2 separate regions of the Homo sapiens genome follow, and region 2 is linked to region 1. The links are contacts of gene promoters, found by promoter capture Hi-C in human tissues and cell types (Jung and others, 2019). All regions are on one chromosome and are shown on one strand. The core of a region is centred on a gene start or on the middle of the fragment in contact, and the rest is flanking DNA. Distances in the headings are between cores, read along the strand shown.

What was found. Contacts are between HindIII fragments. The study calls those that stand out against the background at their distance.
Region 2: a contact is called between a fragment that was not itself captured here and the fragment with the promoter of CBL in region 1, in 4 of the 25 tissues and cell types used here (IMR-90 fibroblasts, aorta, liver and 1 more).

The regions. Positions count from the first base shown.
Region 1 is chr11:119,204,751-119,207,816 of GRCh38, forward strand. CBL (Cbl proto-oncogene) reads left to right here and starts at 1,589. Exons shown (of 16, transcript NM_005188.4): 1 at 1,589-1,862. The coding sequence starts at 1,668. RefSeq lists silencers at 1,097-1,166, 1,207-1,596, 1,667-1,856, 2,047-2,106. The HindIII fragment of the contact is 26,271 bases long and covers 1-3,066 here.
Region 2 is chr11:119,247,734-119,250,799 of GRCh38, forward strand. All of the region lies in intron 2 of CBL (Cbl proto-oncogene), which reads left to right. Among named protein-coding and RNA genes, the nearest start is that of CBL, 43 kb to the left of the region's middle. The HindIII fragment of the contact is 3,159 bases long and covers 1-3,059 here.

The DNA.
Region 1 (3,066 bases), core at 339-2,838:
ACTATACTTTAGGAAGCCTATGGTGGCAGGATGAATTGAAGGCACAGGAAAAGGTTTCAATATTCAATAGTCCAGGGAAAAGAAACGGAGGACCTGCAACTAGGTGTTGGCACTAAGGGATGGAGCTTTGCCTAGATTTTCCCTTTGTAGATTCTTCTCTTCCTGGATGGAAAATGATAAAAGGAAATTCTTCTGATAGTAAATTATAATGTTGACTCCAAAATCAATTCTAGATAAAGGCGATTAAATTGCAAACCCAGGATGCCTGTCTGAATGGTCCCTGCATTCAAAGATATTTTCCCCTTTACAGGAGCACCGGATAAATTTAACTCCCTAATCTGTCAAGGGCTTTGTGGAAGAGCCTGGAGGGGGATCGAAGGCGGAACTGATACTGACACACCTGGGTCTGCAAACTCCCAAAACTGAGGCTCAGAATTAGTAAATTAGGGCAGGGCACTTCCCTCTTTGGAAGGGAAGTTCCTATTTTCAAAGTTCTTCCAACGGAACTTTTACATTAGAGAAGTGTAATTGACTGAGAAGTGGAAGTGACCAGGAACAGCATTTCTGTTCCCTGGGCGGGAGAGAGAACCCCCTCGGGCGGAGCCAGCAGCAGGTCAGCTTCTGAGGGGGCCCTCATGCTGGCGGCGCCGACCTGTGGTGCAATGCTCTGAGTAGGAGAATCTTAAATACATGTTTGAGATTCAATTCCCAGAAACGTAACTAGTCTTCACAAGCCAAAAAAATAAAAATAAAAAATAAAAAAAGGAAGTGATTTCTTTTCAAGAGGTCAAAGGGCCTGGAAGAAGAGGTCCTGGCTTGAGTGTCTCAAGGCTTTCTGGGGCCTAATCCGGCTGGAATGGGCCGCAGCATTCATATTCCTGTCCTTGGTCGTGTCTTAATGAAGAATTGAAAATAATAAGGGGTGGAGAAATAACTTTCCTTTTTCTCCCACCATCCTCCCACAGTGTAAATAAACAAATAACTCTAAGCTCGATTTCCTCATTTGTCAGGGGTGGGGAAAGACTTGACATCAGGACTCTTCCATTCCATCGCCACCTGTCTTAATTTAAACATTCCCATGACCCACCCCAGAAGCGCCAACCTCCCGCCCACAAGGAGCATGGAAGTCTTGGTTTCTGGCTACTGCGCAGACTCCACCTTGGACCTACTCCCCAACCCCCCGCCGCTCCTTTCCCCGTTTCTCCAGCAGAGGGCGCAGGCCCAAAGGTTCCGCCGACCCCGCCCCAGCCTGGCCCCGCCCCGCCCCGGCGTAGGGGCGGGGAAGACGGGCACAGAAACCTGGCCGCGGCTTTCCGGGAGCTGTGGGCACGCGAGCTGCTCGAAGCCGGTGGCCCGGGGATCGTCGCTGCCCAGTCCGGCCGCGGCCGGCCGCTTCCCCGAGCTTACCAGTAAGCCGGTCCGCCTCCGGGACGCGCCCCGCCCGCCCCGGGCTCGCGCGCTCTGAAGGGGCGCGTCCCGCGCACTCCCGGCGCCGCCCACTCCCCTCCCCACGGCCGCTCCTCCCTCCGCCCGGATAGCCGGCGGCGGCGGCGGCGGCGGCGGCGGCGGCGGCCGGGAGAGGCCCCTCCTTCACGCCCTGCTTCTCTCCCTCGCTCGCAGTCGAGCCGAGCCGGCGGACCCGCCTGGGCTCCGACCCTGCCCAGGCCATGGCCGGCAACGTGAAGAAGAGCTCTGGGGCCGGGGGCGGCAGCGGCTCCGGGGGCTCGGGTTCGGGTGGCCTGATTGGGCTCATGAAGGACGCCTTCCAGCCGCACCACCACCACCACCACCACCTCAGCCCCCACCCGCCGGGGACGGTGGACAAGAAGATGGTGGAGAAGTGCTGGAAGCTCATGGACAAGGTGAAAGGCCGGCTGAGCGCCCGCTGTTGCAGGGTGGGCGTGGGCGGAGGGCCGCGGGGAGGGGAACGAGCGGACGGAGGAAGCGGGGGAGGGGACGGGTCTGGTGAAGCCGGGGAGGCGCGGAGCCGGGGTGACCGGCCGGGGGCGTGGGGGCAGGGACGAGGCCGGGAGGGTGGGGGGCGGCGTGGGGGAGGGGCTGCCGTTGGGAGTCGGGGAACGCTGGGGTGCCGCGTTTGGGGTAGCCAGACAAAGATGGAGTGGGGGCTGGGGCGAAGGTTAACTGGGAAGTCAGTGGGGCGGAAGTACAATGAGGGGTGCGGAGTTTGGGGCTCTGTGCAGGGTGTAGGGATGTAGGTCACGGAATTGGCCTGGGAGGTTAGCAGGGAGGGGGTGAGGAAGAGTGATGTACCGGCTGGGGCTCTTGGCTGGGTGAGATCTGACTAGGGAATTAGGTTCATGGGCTCTGACTGAGGAACCTGGCTGGGGTCAGGACAGCTCTCAGGGAAGCTGTGCTCTGGGTGAGAGTATAGTCCTTTCTCATTAAGATGTAACACGAAGATAAAAGACATATTGATGTTTAAGTGAGGCAAGGAAAGAACTTTCCTCCCCATCTAGCGCCGGCTCAAGTTTTTTGTTACCCTCAGAAACACTGGATGTGATCCATTGCTGGTGCTGAGATATGCACTGATTAAACCACAAGTTCTGGTTAGAACTATTATCTTCTGAAAGATGGACTGGCTGAGCCTGTTAAGCAGCAGCAGATTCTGACTTCTTAATAACTTCCTCCCTACTACATCGCTTGAGCTGGGTTCTTTTTTTCTGGTAACGGTTCTGACTCCTTATTACAGGTCCTGACTTTAAACTTGTTCGTTGAGCTTCTTTGATTACGCTTTTTTGTTTGTTTGCTTTTTGCAAGTGCGAACAAAAATAACTCCTTTATATTTAGCCACTAAGTTTGTCATTTGGGAGAATTTTACTTCCTTATAGTTGTGTCTATATGATGAAATGTAGTCAGTCTCAAGTATTTAACTGTTTAAGCAGTCGGACGCTTTGTCAGAATTCAATACGTTTTCTTGGTATTTTTCATATTCTTTAATTAATTACTTTGACAAAATTCATATTGCGTATGAAAAGTGATTAGAAGTATCTGGCACGTTTTAAGAGAATGGTGTTATTTCCTCCAGGGTAAAATTTGGTTTTCTTT
Region 2 (3,066 bases), core at 230-2,729, 43 kb after region 1:
CCCGGCAGGCAGGGGTTGCAGTGAGTCGAGATCATGCCACTGCACTTCAACTTGGGTGACAGAGCAAGGGTCCGTCTCAAATAAAAATTATAGTTTTATACATAAGGAATGAACAATCCAAAAATAAAATTAAGAAAATTCCATTTGCAGTAGTATCAAAAATAATAAAATACTTAGGAATAAAATTAAGGAGGCAAAAGACTTGTACACTGGAAACTACAAAACATTGCTGAAAGAAACTAAAGAAGACCTAAATAAATGGAGAGACATTCTGTGTTCATGGATTATAACTTAGAATTGTTAAGGTTGCAGTATTCCCCATGTTGATACACAGTCATTGCAATACCTATCAAAATTCCAGTAGCACTTTTTTCAGAAGCTGACTAGTGGATTTTAAAAGTCATAAAAAATCTTAAGGGACCTCAAATAGCCAAAACAATCTTGAACAAGAATAAAGTTGGAAGACTTGTATTTCTGATTTCAAAGCTTTACTGCAAAGCTGCAATAATCAAAACATTGTGGTACTGGTATAAGGATAGACATACAGACCAGTAGACTAGAATTGAGAGCCCAGAAATAAACCCTCATACATATGGTCAATCGATACTTTTTTGACAAGCTTCTCAATGGAGAAACAACAGTCTTTTCAACAAATGGTGCTGGGAAAACTAAATTATCACATTCAAAAGAATGAAGTTGGATCCTTTCCTTATGTTGCATATAAAAATCCTGCAGAAGGATGGGCCAAAAAAATGAAAACAAACAACTCTCAAAATGTATCAAAGACCTAAATTTAAGAACTAAAATACAAAATTTGTAGAAGAAACATAAGTGAAAATCTTCATGAATCTTGGATTAGGCAATGATTTCTTAAGTATGACACCAAAAGCATAAAGATAGATAAATCAGACTTCATGAAAATTAAGAACTTTGTTCATCAAAGGACATATTAAGGAAGTGAAAAGGCAGCACACAGAATGGGTCAAAATATTTACAAGTTATATATTTGATAAGGGATCAACATCCAGAACATGTAAAGAACTTCAAAACAACAACAAAACAAACCAATTCAAAAATGCTCAAAAGTTTTGAATAGATTTTTCTTCAGAGAAGATATACAGCTGTCCAATAAGCTCATGAAAGGATGCTCAACATCATTAAATCATTAAGGAAATGCAAATCAAAACCACAATGAGATACCACTTCACAGCTGTTAGGTGGATATTATTTTAAGAATAAAACCCTCATGCATTGGTGATAGGAATAGAAAATGGTACAGCCACTGTGGGAAACAGTTTGGCAGTTCTTTAGAAAGCTGAACATAGAATTACCATAGGATCTAGCAGTTCTTCTAGGTACATACCCCAAAGAATTGAAAGCAAGGACTTGAACAGATATTTGTACACCCATGTTCATAGCAGCAGTTTTCACAACAGCCAAAAAGTAGAAGCAGTTCAAGTGTTCAGCAGATGAGTGGGTGAAGCAAATGTGTTATAGCCATATGGTGGAATATTATTCACTCATAAAAAATGAAATTTTCGACTGGGCGTGGAGGTTCATGCCTGTAATCCCAGCACTTTGGGAGGCCAAGCAGGGCAGAACACTTGAAGTCAGGAGTTTGAGACCAGCCTGGCCAACATGGAAAAACCCCATCTCTACTGAAATACAAAAATTAGCTGGGCATGGTGGCACACGCCTGTAATCCCAGCTAGTTGGGAGGCTGAGGCAGGAGAACCGCTTGAACCCAGGAAGCAGGGTTCGCAGTGAGGTGAGACGCCACTGCACTCCAGCGTGGGTGACAGAGTGAGACTCGGTCTCAAAAAAAAAAAAAAAATGCTGTGGGCACATTATAGAGAATTGAAATCAAATAACAAAAGGGAAAGGAAAGTGACTAATATTGCTATTATTTTGGTACAGTTTCTTTCTTTCTTTCTTTTTTTTTTTTTAATTGAGACAGGGTCTCCCTTTATCTCCCAGGTGGTATGATCATGACTCACTGCAGTCTCAGCCTCCTGGGCTCAAGTATCGATCCTCCCACCTAAGCTTCCCAAGTTGCTGAGAATACAGGCACACACTACCATACAGACTAACTTATTTTTTTGTACAGATACAGCCTCATTATGTTGCCCAGGCTGGTCTCAAACTCCTGGGCTCAAGTGATCCTCCTACCTTACTCAGCTTCCTAGAGTGCTGGGATTTTAGATGTGAGCCACTGTGCCTGGCTTTTGTCTGCTAATTCTGTCATCTTTGTCACTCATAGATTTAATTCTATTGGTTTATTTTTATCCTCAGTAAGAGTCATATTTTTCTGTTTCAGTCCATGCTGGGCAATTTTTGAGTGGATGCCAGACATCGTTAATCTTACCTTGTTCTACACTGGATTCTTTTATATTATAAATACTCCTAAGCTGTGTTCTGGGACACAGCTATGTTACATGGAATAGTTTGATCCTTTTAAACCTTGTGAGGCAGGACCAAAATGACCTTTAATCTAGGGTAAATTTCCCCTGATGTCCATTGAATTGTAAGATTTTTTTCCTCTCTTGTCCTTGTGTGAGATCTAGGGATTATTCCCTCTACCCCTTTCAGGTGGTTCTTTCCCTAGCTTCAGGTATTTTCCTGTGTTGATCAGTGCTTAGCTGAAGACTTAGAAGGTCCCCTCTGTAGCTCTTCAAAGCTGGGCTTTCTTTATGCATCTCTCTCCTCTCTTGTATTTTGCACTGTGAACTCCAGATGCCTTGGCTTTCCCAGGCCCCAAATTCTGTCTTCTCAACCCAGAGTGACCGTCAAGTCTGCCTGAATTCCCTTTCTAGTGCTGAGACATGAAAACTCTCCAGGCAGTAAGTTAGATCAATCACAGGGCTTGCCTTATTTGTTTTCCTTTTTCAGGGGGTCCCTGTCCGCTATTGCCTGGTGTCCAGTTTGTGAAAATTATTTCAGGTGCACCAGCTCATGTCTGTAATCTCAGCACTTTCAGAGGCTGGAGGTGGGTGTATTCCTTGAGGCCAGGACTTTGAGACCAGCCTGGCCAACATGGTAAAACCCCGTCTCTACTAAAAATACAAA